Regions from separate parts of the Homo sapiens genome. Here region 1 is linked to region 2. Evidence: promoter capture Hi-C in 16 types of primary human blood cells and fetal thymus (Javierre and others, 2016). All regions are on one chromosome and are shown on one strand. The core of a region is centred on a gene start or on the middle of the fragment in contact, and the rest is flanking DNA. Distances in the headings are between cores, read along the strand shown.

Region 1 (6,114 bases), core at 883-3,382, 520 kb before region 2:
AGAGCCAGGTCCCATTACTCTATACTTACCCACAAGGAATGGAAAGGCAGGCTTTTTTTTTGTTTTTGTTTCTGTTTTTTGAGACGGAGTTTTGCTCTTGTCGCTCAGGCTGGAGTGCAGTGGCACGATCTCGGCTCACTGCCACCTCCGCCTCCCGGGTTCAAGCGATTCTCCTGCCTCAGCCTCCTGAGTAGCTGGGATTACAGGCGCCCGCCAGCACACCCAGCTAATTTTTTGTATTTTTAGTAGAGACGGGGTTTTGCCATATTGGGCAGGCTGGTCTCTTCACTCCTGACCTCATGCGATCCGCCTCGGCCTCCCAAAATGCTGTGATTACAGGCGTGAGAGCTACCACGCCCGGCAGGAAAGACAGGTTTTAAACAAATGAGCATCAAGAGGACAAAGACTCAGATACTGACATTTAATCAGCTGTTCACTTGTTTCACCTGTCAATTCCAAAATAAGAAAGCCTTTCTATTACAGATTCCATAGTATGCTCAATGACAACACAACACAGAAACACAAGTTGCTGAAGCCAAGACTCTCGTGACTCAAAATGTGTTTATTTTGCTAAAAACAGTGATCTGAGCAACCAGAGATTATAAAGAAGTTCCAATTACGTGAAGTTTCCAGATTCGAAAATCAAGACTACACCATTCAACTCATCAGTAGTCTTTGAGCTAAGAACATCTCACCAAAATCAATGGAAAGACTGCGAAAGATCTCCAGTAAGAAAGGACCAGGAAAGCAATGTCCATATCAGAAAAGGAATGGTTAACGTGAGTCAGACTGTAGTCAAGAAGCTTAAATGATTTCAGCCAACAACAAAGAATCCCACAAAGAAACCATACACTTCCTATAACCAATGTTCCCCAACCCCAGAACAGTTTCCCAAGGTCTTCTATAACAAGAGTTCCTCCTGACTGGTTTGAGTTCTTTCTACTCCAACAGATGATTCTGTTCTTCGTTCACTGAACAACTTAAGAGCTGTTCAACCCCCCAGGTTCCAAAACCTCTCGCAGCTGGGGATCCTTTTAAACATGCACATCACTCAGGAGCCCATGGGGATGAGAGGCATTCACAGAGCATCAGGGAAAATGGAAAGCAACATTTTGCTTAACAGGAGAAACCGCCCCTTATTCATCTTTCTCCCACATCACCTAACTCTAGGGAATGCTTAACGTGGCTTGAAGGAAATGAAGACAGCGACCTAAAAGCACACAGATGCAAGACTTCCAGGAAGAGGTTTTCCCATCCTGCTGGACTCCTGTAGTGTCAGTATTTGGGGCTCCCTCTAATGCTACATTTCTGCTGAGCCTGCAGACATACTTGGAACCCATCACCTTCGGGCTCCCAGACTCAGGCTCCGCACAGCCCGCGAGGGAAACGGTCATGGGCACGCACGGACACGTTTCCATCTTTGCATGTTTATCTACGTCGACTGTGAATTCAAGCAAGTGTGGCCCTCGTGGACAACCTACGAGCCTTAGGGACACAAAAGGCTTCCTGCGCAAACTGCACGGAATCTCCTGACAGGACTTCACGTTAATCATCATTCATAGGTGGGTTCTGGGGCTGGACCCCACGGAACTCCTCTTGGTTGTGTCTTGGACTTCTCACTGCCCCAAAGGAGCCTACTACTGTGGTTTTATGGTCTGAGGAACAGTTAGGCCTCGAAGGCCTGGCCTAGGGAGAGTGCACTCTGCATCCCGAGCTCCCGCCTTCCCCACTCGGCGGCCGGGACCGAGTTTCCCGCCCCACAGCCCGACCAGAGGTTGGTGGCAGTTGGAGGCAGTTGGGACCGGCCCCAGCAGGTTGGAACCGGTCTGGGCCGGGCCGGAGGAGGAAGGGGGGGAGGAAGAGGCCGCCTCGCGCTCTCCCTGCGCGCGTGACTCACGCTGGCCGCTGACGTCAGGCGTGCGCGCGCGGCGGGGGGGGGGGGGCTCTACGTACGTGTAGTGCTGCGGTTTCTCGGGCTGTGCCTGCAGCACCTGAGCGGTAGCGGCCGGGGGCGCCGAGGAAGCTGCGGAGCCGCCGGGCCCGGGGCCCTTCGACATGGTCTTGTCTTCCTGCCTCTTCGCCGCTCCCCTTTTATTATTCAGTCTGCGCGGTCCGCGCCGAGGACCCAGTGCGCCTGCGCCGCGCCACGAGAACGTGAAGACCCCCCACACGGCAGCAGGGGTTGCTGGGAGTTGTGGTTCTATGTCCGGCTGGAATTTTACCGTCGGCAGAGGGTTGCTGGCAAAGCACAGGACCACAATACCCAGGGATCCTTGCTGCTAGTGTCCCGGATGCTGAGGGCCTGCGACGGCTTCTGGGAATTGCAGTCCGGTCGCATTTCTCCTTCTTACCAGCGCGTTTTCAGTTTCATAGGGAAGCCTTTCCATGAAACTGGAGCGCCTGGAGGAGAAGGGGCCCAGAGCTAGGGAGGCCCTAGCGATTTCTGCGAAAGAGTTCCAAGTATAATTTCACTGCCAACAGTGTCATAACTACTTTGCCTTTATACTTAGTACAGCTAGGTTCGGTTCTAATGCCAGCTCAGAGCAGTGCTCCAAGCAGGGCTTAAGAATCTGTGTTGTCGGTTCTTAGTTCTGGGCCCTGTGCTGCAGGCACCTGCAATCCGCCAGCAACCCCTTCATCCCTGCGGCGGGTCTAACCTAAGAGGCATTGAGAAAGCTTTGCTAAGGAGGAGGTACACCGCACGCTACAGTTCCCGCGCCTTTGCCGAGGCGCTTCATTTACCTTTGCCAAACTCGACACCTGGAACTCCACGACTTGTGTGCTTTCTCAGCCTGACACCTGGCCTGACCAACTTGTTTCCAGTACATTAAGGGCCAAGGACGAATTTAATCTCCGCCTAGAATAGTCTCTGAGGTACACTGACAAGTTGCCAGTGTTGAGAAGCATCACAGGGTCCAGAGGAAAGGCCTGGGTTTGAGTAGGGCGTGCCCGTATTTATCCACTCTAGTTTTCTTGTCTGGACGTCAGCCTTTTTACTTGGGACATTATCTTTCCCCTCTCTGCTTCCCACCAGTCAAGCAAAGTTCTTCACTTTATAAAATAAGCCAGATGCCCCAGACCTAGGCATTTGTTTCTGTGAGTTTTAGAATGTTCTCCGTAGATATTTTAACCGTTGTCATTTAATTTGGTTTTTCATATTGAATCTATTTCAAATCCACTGGTTTTGATTTATATTTTCTTAGATGGGATTATATTAACAAATGATTATCTCATTAAAGAAACACATTCCAAATAACCTTAGGGATGAAGGGTGGTGGGGCTAATGGAAAATCGTTAATGTTTGAGTGACACATACTTATTTTATTTAGCTCCAAGTTCCCTCACATCAGAAGCCACATCACAGAGTTGAGAAACTGGTTTTTCCTAAACAGGCTAAATCGTTTAGCCACTAGGGGCGTTTGAAAATGAAAAATTACAAAAGGACAAATAAAAGTTGTAGTATATTGCTTTAATCCTATGATTAAACGCAAGTTACTTGGTTTATGTTAGCCTCACAATACTCAAGTGTGATCTGACTGAAGAAATAGAGTTCACAGCACTGGATTTTAAATAATAGATGTATATCATGAGCTTCAGAATAAGTGTGTACTGGTGGAGTTGGGAGATGATATCATCCAAACTGCTTAATTTACAAAAGAGGAAACCGAAACCCAGAGAAGCTAAGTAACTTGCACAAAGTTACTCAGCAAGTTGGTAACAAGAGGAACTAGGACAGTAGCCTACAAGACTACATCACATTCACTGTTGGGTTTTGTTTGTTTTGTTTTCTTCTGCTTTTTTTCATTGTATAAACATTTTTTATTCTTCCTCATTTCCTGTGTTGCTTTTCCTCCGTTGTACCAATCTGGAAAAAGTGAAACATACCTGCATGACTACGAAGTAAGAGAGACAGCCTTTTTTTTTTTTTTTTTTTTTTTTTTTTGAGGCAGAGTCTTGCTCTGTTGCCCAGGCTGGAGTGCAGTGGTGTGATTTCGGCTCACTGCAACCTCTGCCTCCCAGGTTCAAGCAATTCTCCTGCCTCAGCCTCCTGAGTAGCTGGGATTACAGGTGTGTGCCACCACGCCCACCTGATTTTTGTAGTTTTAGTAGAGACGTGGTTTCACCATGTTGGTCAGGCTGGTCTCGAACTCCTGACCTCACGATCCACCCTCCTCAGCCTCCCAAGAGCTGGGATTACAGGCGTGAGCCACTGCGCCCGGACTCCTGTTTCCACGAATCATACTTAAATGGATAAATGTATATCCATACCTTTTTTCTCCGGGTGGCTTTAGTTTCTAATAATCAGCAAAGCTGGAAAGAAAATGACTGTCCATCCACACAAAGGCATGGAAATGACAGGATTCTGTATAACCTAGAAAAATCGTGAAACACAGCAGGGAGTGGTGGCTGAAGCCTGTAATCCCAGCACTTTGGGAGGCCGAGGTGGGCGGATCACAAGGTCAGGAGATCGAGACCATCTTGGCTAACATGGTGAAACCCTTGTCTCTACTAAAAATACAAAAAAATTAGCCAGGCGTGGTGGCGGGCGCCTGTAGTCCCAGCTACTCAGGAGGCTGAGGCAGGAGAATGGTGTGAACCTGGGAGGCGGAGCTTGCAGTGAGCCGAGATGGCGCCACTGCACTCCAGTCTAGGCGACAGAGCAAGACTCCATCTCAAAAAAAAAAAAAAAAAAAAAAATCGTGGAACACAAAGTGGGGGACCAATTTAGAAAGCCTATTCCTCTTCTAGGCCAAAGTCAAAAAAAAAAAAAAAAAAAAGATGACAAGTTATTTTTCTGTTTGCATCCCAGAGAATTTGACAGCCTCATATGTGTGTCTAAACAGTCCCCTGTTTCTTAACTTGACACAGGTTTGAGAATAAAGCATGAGAATCCACCTAGGTTTCTCTTCTCAGCATGGCATTAATAAAATCATGTAATTTTTCCCTACCTCAAATTTTGAGTCAAAGGCAGAAATCAAAGTTGGTTATCACAGTAAATTTAGGTATATGATGATTAAATACATAATGTGCACGTTAAGATTAAGAAGGCTGGCTGAGCGCGGTGGCTCACGCCTGTAATCCCAGCACTTTGGGAGGCGAGAGGCAGGCGGACCACGAGGTCCAGAGATCGAGACCATCTTGGCCAACATGGGAAACCCTGTCTCTACTAAAATACAAAAAATTAGCCGGGCATGGTGGCGCATGCCTACAATCCCAGCTACTTGGGAGGCTGAGGCAGGGGAATCGCTTGAACCCAGGAAGTGGAGGTTGCATGGAGCTGAGATCGCGCCACTGCACTCCAGCCTGGCAGCAGAGCAAGAGTCCGTCTCAAAAAAAAAAAAAAAAAAATTAAGAAGGCTGAAATAATAACAGGAATTTGATACCAGAGATTGAGATGAAGCTGAGCTAGTTTTTCAAAGTGTGCATTTTTTTCTCATTGTTTGATACTTGACCACTGGTGTGACAAGTCAATATTGAGGTATTTGTACTTACGTACTGTAATTCTCTGAAGGTCAGGCATGGTGGCTCATGCCTGTAATCCTAGCACTTTGGGAGGCTGGGGCAGAAGGATTGCTTGAGTCCAGGAGGTCAAAACTGCAGTGAGCCGTGGTCACTGCACCACTGCACTCTAGCATGGGTGACTGGGCAAGACCCCACTTCAAAAAAAAAAAAAATTACCGGCCAGGGGCGGTGGCCCATGCCTGTAATCCCAGCACTTTGGGAGGCCAAGGCGGGTGGATCACAAGGTCAGGAGATCAAGACCATCTTGGCTAACACGGTGAAACCCCGTCTCTACTAAAAATACAAAAAAATTAGCCGGGCGTGGTGGCAGGCGCCTGTAGTCCCAGCTACTCGGAGGCTGAGTCAGGAGAATGGTGTGAACCCAGGAGGCGGAGCTTGCAGTGAGCTGAGATCGTGCCACTGCACACCAGCCTGGGCGACAGAGTCAGACTCCGTCTCAAAAAAAAAAATTAATTTAGTTGAAACCTATGCATACCTGTATCTGCTACTTTTTCTTTTAATAGTTTAGAATATTTGCTGGACCAGCATCAGAACTATAGAGTAGAATGCCCAAGGCTCTATTTCAATTTTCTGGGCTTTGCTTGGCTAGTC
Region 2 (6,713 bases), core at 2,268-4,767:
TTGCAGTGAGCCAAGAATGCACCACTGCACTCCAGCCTGGGCAACAGAGCGAGACTTCGTCTCAAAAAAAAAGAAAAAGAAAAAGAAGAAAAGCACTGGCCATTTTCCCTCCTAAATGGTAGTCCTACCAAGTTGTTATAAGAACCAAATAGGAAAAGCCCCATTAGCTGGGGTGACTAATCCACCTCAGACCATAGGTACCTAAAAACAAGACCCCTTCAGTCTTCAGACACAGCAAAACCCTGTCTCTACTAAAAATACAAAAAAATTAGCTGGGCATGGTGGCGGCCACCTGTAATCCCAGCTACTTGGGGTGGGCAGGGACTGAGACAGGAGAATCTCTTGAACCCGGGAGGCGGAGGCTGCAGTGAGCCGAGAGCTGAGATTACAGCACTGCACTCCAGTCTGGGCAACAAAAGCGAAACTCCATCTCAAAAAAAAAAAAAAAAGTTAAAAACAAAAAGACCCTATACAAACAGTTAAAGAAAACCAAAAACAAGACCCCGTGTCCAAAAATCATTTGTCAGGCCCTCACTATGCGTCAGTACCATGCCAGACACGAGAGTGCAGACAATAATGAAGTCCCTACCCCATGGAGTTGATATTGAAAAAGGAGAACACAAGAAAACTCAGGACAATAAAATATAATTAAATGCTATGAAAGAGATACCTAGTACTGTTCAGCAAACACTGATGAAGCATCAGTTATCGGTCAAGCACTATGCCAAACACTGGCATACAAAGACAGGATATGAATAGTCCCTCGCCATGAGAATTTTACAGGTTAGGACACACAGGATGCTTGACAGAAGAAGGCGAAGGGAGGTGGGCTCCCAGATGTCACTTAGATACTTCTTCACTCTCTTCCACCTTCTGCCTATAATTTTTACGCTACAGGACTCAGATGAGTGGACCGTAACAGTCTCAATTCTTTTTTTTTTTTTTTTTTTGAGATGGCGTCTTGCTCTGTTGCCAGGCTGGAGTGCGGTGGTGTGCTCTCGGCTCACTGCAACCTCTGCATCCTGGGTTCAAGCGATTCTCCTGCTTCAGCCTCCCAAGTAGCTGGGACTACTGGTATGTGCCACCACACCTGGCTAATTTTGTATTGTTAGTAGAAACAGGGTTTCTCCTTGTTGATCTCGAACTCCCCACCTCAGGTAATCCATCCACCTCGGCCTCCCAAAGTGCTGGGATTACAGGTGTGAGCCACCGTGCCCAGCCGTTTTTTTTTTTTTTTTTTCTGAGACAAGGTTTCTCTCTCTTGCCCAGGCTGGAATGCAGGGGCGTAATCATAACTCACTGCAGCCTTGACCTCCTGGACTCAAGTGATCCTCCTACCTCAGCCTCCTGAGTAGTTGGGAGCACAGATGCACACCACCACACCTGGCTAATTTTTTTGTTTTTTTTGTAGAGACGGGATCTCCCTATGTTGCCCTGCTGTCTCTTAACTCCTGAGCTCAAGCTATCCTGCATTAGGCTCCCAAAGTGCTGAGATTACAGGTGCAATCCCACTGCACCAGCTAGAAAGCTATCAATCTTGACCCAACTCCCAAGCACCACCTATCTTGTTTCACATGTGGAGGGCCCTGCTTTCTTGCCCTGGCCATTCATTCACCTGGTAGAAACGGCCTCCCTTGAGGATGGGTACCAGCCCAATCATAGGCTCACAGTTTTTCAGTGCTTGATGGAAGATGGTGTAGGGGTTGCGTTCGATGGTTGCCTGTTCCTCTGCAGAAGCGGCATGGTACTTCTCAAACTGCTTCCTTTTCACAGCTTCCAGAGTCTGCAAAAGAATATGGTGGAAGAGGCTGCCCCAGGCTCCCTAAAGGGTTTACCCAGCCAAGCTAGTACCTTGCCCTTTACTCCCATCCTCTGGTTCTGCGCTGGCAATGCAGCTCCTCTCACAGCACATCCAAAACAAAGTTTTTAAGTGCCTCCCCCTTTGCTAGACTAGGACAGAAAGAGTGGATTGAGATTTGTGGCATGGAGGGGGTGGGGGGTGAGGTGGGGAATGGCAGTTGTTTTATTTTTTATTTGTTCCTTTTTTTTTAATTGTGTGTTTACTTCCGAAACACCAAGGAATGGCAGTTGCTGACTCTTACAGGGCTTCATTAAAGCCCGTACACATGCAGGGAAGTTAATCTGAATAATAGATACATGAATCCATTTGCTCTTAAGCTACACTGAAAGTACCAAGTACAAGGCTACGGGGTAGGGGGGCAAGAAAGATGACTGAGGAGGGAAGTGCTGTTTACCTGAATCATGAGGGATCTGGCCAGTACTTTGTTTCCTCCTATCATCATCATGTTGGTGAATTTACTTCAAAGAGAAAAGCAACACGTTTAGCTCTCCAAGGCTGTATCACAGAATCCTCACCAGAAACCCTCCCTGGGATAGTCCCAGTCCATGTAACAAGTGTTTGTTTCCATCTAACCTGATGACTGGGTCTTCAAACACAGAACTTGTTTTCCCTGCTGGAGCAGCTTTGATGAGCTGAGTCTTCTTGAGCTCCCGAACATATTTCTCCTCCTCAGTTAGCTCCTCCACTGGCTTGCGATAATATTCCTTGTCAATCAAGGGATCCTTGAATTCAGGACTATAGCGGCTCCATCTCACCTGAGTTAGCCTGGGAGGGGGGGAAAGGAGGAGGCAGGCAAAAGCTGACTCCACAAGCGAGTAGGTTTGACTTAACAATAGGCATGACTGCCAACGCGCCGACGAGGGGGAGCGGCGCGGAGACCGCGAGCTAAACCTGAGCCACAACAATTCAGGCCCTTGTCCCAAGTAGGAGGACATTCCCCAAGCAGGCGGGTAAAGTCTCCTCCTGGTCAAGTGCTAACGGTAAGGATGGGCTTGGCGCCTACACACCCATCCCAATTCACAGGCGATCCCAGATCTGAGCTCTTTAGCTGAACCGCACTTTCAGCTCCGCGTTAGAACCCTAGATCAGCCAGACTCCTTAGGCGAGAGGTAGTCACTAAACCTTCGGATTGGCGCAGGGTCACGCAGCTAACTTAGAAGCTTGAATCCAGATACTCCGGCCCCCAGGGCAATGCTCTCTCTAGGGGCCCACGCGGCCTGCCTGTGGCCCCCTTCCTTCCTCGCAGCGCCCCCCCGCCGCTGCTCGCCACCCTCTCACCCTGGAAGCTGCAAGACAGCCCGCCGCACGCCCAACGCCAGGCCCGACCATCCTCGGGCAACCTTCACTGCGGGGGCAGCCATCTTGGCTGGCCACGAGGACCCCACAAGGACTGCCCTCGGCGCGCCTGAGCGAGTGACGGGAAACGGGTGAAAAAGACTCCTCAGGGTCCTAAATCTGCGTTTCTCTCCACTGATCTGGACGTTAGAGTTTTTCACTCCGGGGTCCAAAGGGGAGCGCCAAAAGGAAACCCTTGCCCTCCCTGTATCCGTCGCAGTCTGGCGCGGCCCTCGGTGACGGCACTCACTCCTCTCAGGACCCCATGCAGGCCCCGCCCCGTCTCAGCTCGTGCAGACTCTCGCGAGTTTTGAAGCCGCGGGGCCGGGCGGCTGCAATATGGCGGAGGCGGAAGGGGAAAGCCTGGAGTCCTGGCTCAGTGAGTAGCCGCGGCCGTTTCTGCCTGCCCTCGAGCCGCTGGGCTGCCCCTGTCTTCACCCCCACGTCCCCTCCCCGGGCTCCACGGCGTCGCCTCTTGGCAGCCCACGCCCGGTCTCGCCCTCGCCGCGAGCAGCCTGCGATCACGCCCCTTCCCTATCAGGGCGCCGGGCCCCAGTCCGGCCCCCGCTTCCCTCGCTGCGGCGCGTCCTCTTGCTCTGGCGCGCGGCGGCGTGAACTCGGGCTCCTGTCGGGCACCGCAGGCTCGGGGAAAGGCGACAGCCAAGATCTTCGGGCTGACATGCTTCGGCGCTTTGGGGAGATTGTGGTGGGGTCGCCGCCCGGCGGTGACACCAGGAACCCAGCGCCCCAATCCCTGACTAAGGGAGAAGCTTCGGATTGGGGCTGAGTCTCCGGTAGTGGTGGGTGCTGCCGACTGCGTTCAGTCGCCTGGCAGCTTCAGAATTGTGACCATGTGTTGGAGAAGTGACGGCTTCGCTCAGGCAGAATGCTTGAAGTGAGAATAATATTCCAAAGAGAGCGATGATAGAGAACAGAGAGCTCTACCTTTTTCCTGCAGTGACCACAGAAGCATGGTGAAATCGGTGTCGGGAATTCCCCCCCCACACACATACATATACCCCCTTGAATATCCTAACGAGTCAGTGTTGATAGCCTATTCTGAGTAAGGCTGAGGAGCACAGTCTGAAGCTGTAGTTATAGAAGCGTATTGCTGTCATTGCACTGTGAATTACAGTGCTACGAAGGAAATGTGTGTTAACCTGGTTAGCAGGTAGTACTCTGCCTGAGGGTTAATAAGTGAACTTTCCTGTAGGCTAGACCTGGAAGCCTCCTTTAAGTGGAGAGAGAAATTGGACTGGTAATGGGATAGGTGAGATACCTAGTATTGCCTTGTTCTGAGGTCTCTTATTTAGTACTGCTTCCGGGATCTTGGAGGTGATAGCTATTTCCTCAAATTGTCTGATTTTTCCTAGTAAGAAACCCCCTTCAGGAGGTTGAGCTTCAGTTTAAAGGGGAGCATATCCCAAAAGAGAGAAAAAGTAAGATCACGTTTGCAAAATCTGCAGTTGCAGGCAGGTCATAAGGCTTCTTTATATATGGAAGTGTTCTCCAAGGAGCTCAAAGTACTTTACAGATATTCATTAAATTAGTTTACCAAGTATTCTAGCAAAGCAGGCACTACTGCCATAATTTCACAAAAAGAGGACATCCTGACTCCAGTCAAACCACTTGCCCAGAAATGCCCAACTTGCTATAACCAGAGTGGAATTAGTTTGCTTTGAAGGTATTAATATGGGTATTGAATAATTTAAATGACCTAAGCTGAGTTTAATAGGCTACATTTAGAGTTACATTTTGTTTTTGTTACTTGTTTTTGAGACAGAGTCTCGCGCGCTGTTGTCTAGGCTGGAGTGCAGGGGTGCGATCATAGCTCACTGCAGCCTTGAACCCCTGTGCTCAAATAAGTCTTCTACCTCAGCCTCCTGAGTAGCTGGGACTATAGGCACACGCCACCATGCTTGGCTAATTCTTTTGATTTTTAGTAGAGATGAGGTCTTGCTGTGTTGCCCAGGATGGTCTCAAACTCGAGTTCAAGTGATCCTCCCACCTTTCCCTTACAAAGCGCTGGGATTACACACGTGAGCTACCGCACCCAGCCTAGAGTCACATTATGAAATGAGAGGGACACACTTGGTGGGGGGGAGTCACATGGTATCTGTAGAGACATAAGCTTCACAGTTGTTACGACTTAATGTGAACTGTACCAGTTGAACAAACCAGCAGTTGGGGTTCAGCATCGTCTCAGTCAGCGTCCTTGTCACCCCACGTTTGCCTGAATTGTTGCAGAAGCCTCTGCTTGGCCCAGAGACCCAGGTCTCTCCCGTCCTCACCTCTCCTCAGTCCATTCTGCTCCCAGAAGCGCACTTGTGTTGAATCAAATCATTCCACTGTTGCCTGTAATCTGGCCTTGGTTGTTCCAGGCCTTTTTCTCTGTGGCTTCTACGTTTTCCTGCTCTACTCAGTCTGATGTTCTTGGTTTACCAATACACGTTGCTCTCCTTACCTGGAAGCCCTGCTCCCGTTTCCTCAACTAAATGCTTGAAAACCCATCTCAGATTCTCTTTTCTCACAAACCATCTCTTGATGACTTCAGTCTTCTTTCAAGTCCCACCATGATCAATCAATCAATGTTTAATGAGTACCTGCTACGTGGGGTGTTATAGGAGTTAGGAAGTTTAAGAAGATTTTGCCTTTAGTTGGATGGAGGTGATGCTGGAGTGGATGAAGAACTCTCCTGTAATCCCAGCACGTTGGGAGGCCGAGGCGGGTGGATCACGAGGTCAGGAGATCGAGACCATCCTGGCTAACACAGTGAAACCCCGTCTCTACTAAAAAATACAAAAAAATAGCCAGGCGTAGTGGCGGGCGCCTGTAGTCCCAGCTACACGGGAGGCTGAGGCAGGAGAATGGTGTGAACCCGAGAGGTGGAGCTTGCAGTGAGCTGGGATTGTGCCACTGCACTCCAGCCTCGGTGACAGAGCGAGACTCCGTCTCCAAAAAAAAAAAAAAAAAAGATACAAGGCAGTGCTAAAACGCCGGCATTCTCTTTAGGGAACTGGGGATGGGGGAAGAGATGATTCATTGAGGATACTCCATTTGAGCTAGCCATTAAATAATGGGAAAAGTTGGAAAAAAAAAAACACTAGATGGTGATGTGGAGAGAGCAAACCTGTTTGGGGCACACAGTAACAGAGGTGTTTGGGAATGAGGGAAGATAAGGCTGGGAAGTTAAGACCAGATTCTACCAAGTCTCCAATTTCCAGCCCAAGAAGTTTATTTTATTTATTTATTTATTTGAGACAGAGTCTTGCACTGTCACCCAGGCTGGAATGCAGTGGCACAATCTCGGCTCACTGCAACTTCCGTTGCTTAGGTGCAAGCAATTCTCCATCCTCAGCCTCCCAAGTAGCTGGGACTACTGGTATGTGCCACTACACCTGGCTCATTTTTGTATTTTTAGTAGAGATGGGGTTTCACCATGTTGGCCAGGCTGTTGTCAAACTCTTGACCTCAAGTGAGCCACCTGCCTCAGCTCCCTCCAAAGTGTTGGGATTAC

What was found. Contacts are between HindIII fragments. The CHiCAGO score rates a contact against its expected background, and 5 or more counts as called.
Region 1: the fragment with the promoter of UNK here is called in contact with the fragment with the promoter of GGA3 in region 2 in 7 of 17 cell types (fetal thymus, total B cells, naive CD4 T cells and 4 more); the score reaches 10.1 in fetal thymus.

The regions. Positions count from the first base shown.
Region 1 is chr17:75,780,824-75,786,937 of GRCh38, reverse strand. UNK (unk zinc finger) reads right to left here and starts at 2,132. Exons shown (of 16, transcript NM_001080419.3): 1 at 1,954-2,132. The coding sequence starts at 2,057. It overlaps MIR4738 (microRNA 4738), which reads left to right and starts at 2,331; the gene lies at 2,331-2,417. RefSeq lists enhancers at 882-1,459, 1,471-1,870, 1,460-2,038, 3,601-3,780 and a silencer at 1,931-2,070. The HindIII fragment of the contact is 1,873 bases long and covers 806-2,678 here.
Region 2 is chr17:75,258,410-75,265,122 of GRCh38, reverse strand. GGA3 (golgi associated, gamma adaptin ear containing, ARF binding protein 3) reads left to right here and starts at 3,517. Exons shown (of 17, transcript NM_138619.4): 1 at 3,517-3,575. The coding sequence starts at 3,536. MRPS7 (mitochondrial ribosomal protein S7) reads right to left here and starts at 3,244. Exons shown (of 5, transcript NM_015971.4): 1 at 3,140-3,244; 2 at 2,435-2,626; 3 at 2,256-2,319; 4 at 1,616-1,783. The coding sequence starts at 3,222. RefSeq lists enhancers at 2,458-3,335, 3,132-3,541, 4,012-4,111. The HindIII fragment of the contact is 945 bases long and covers 3,024-3,968 here.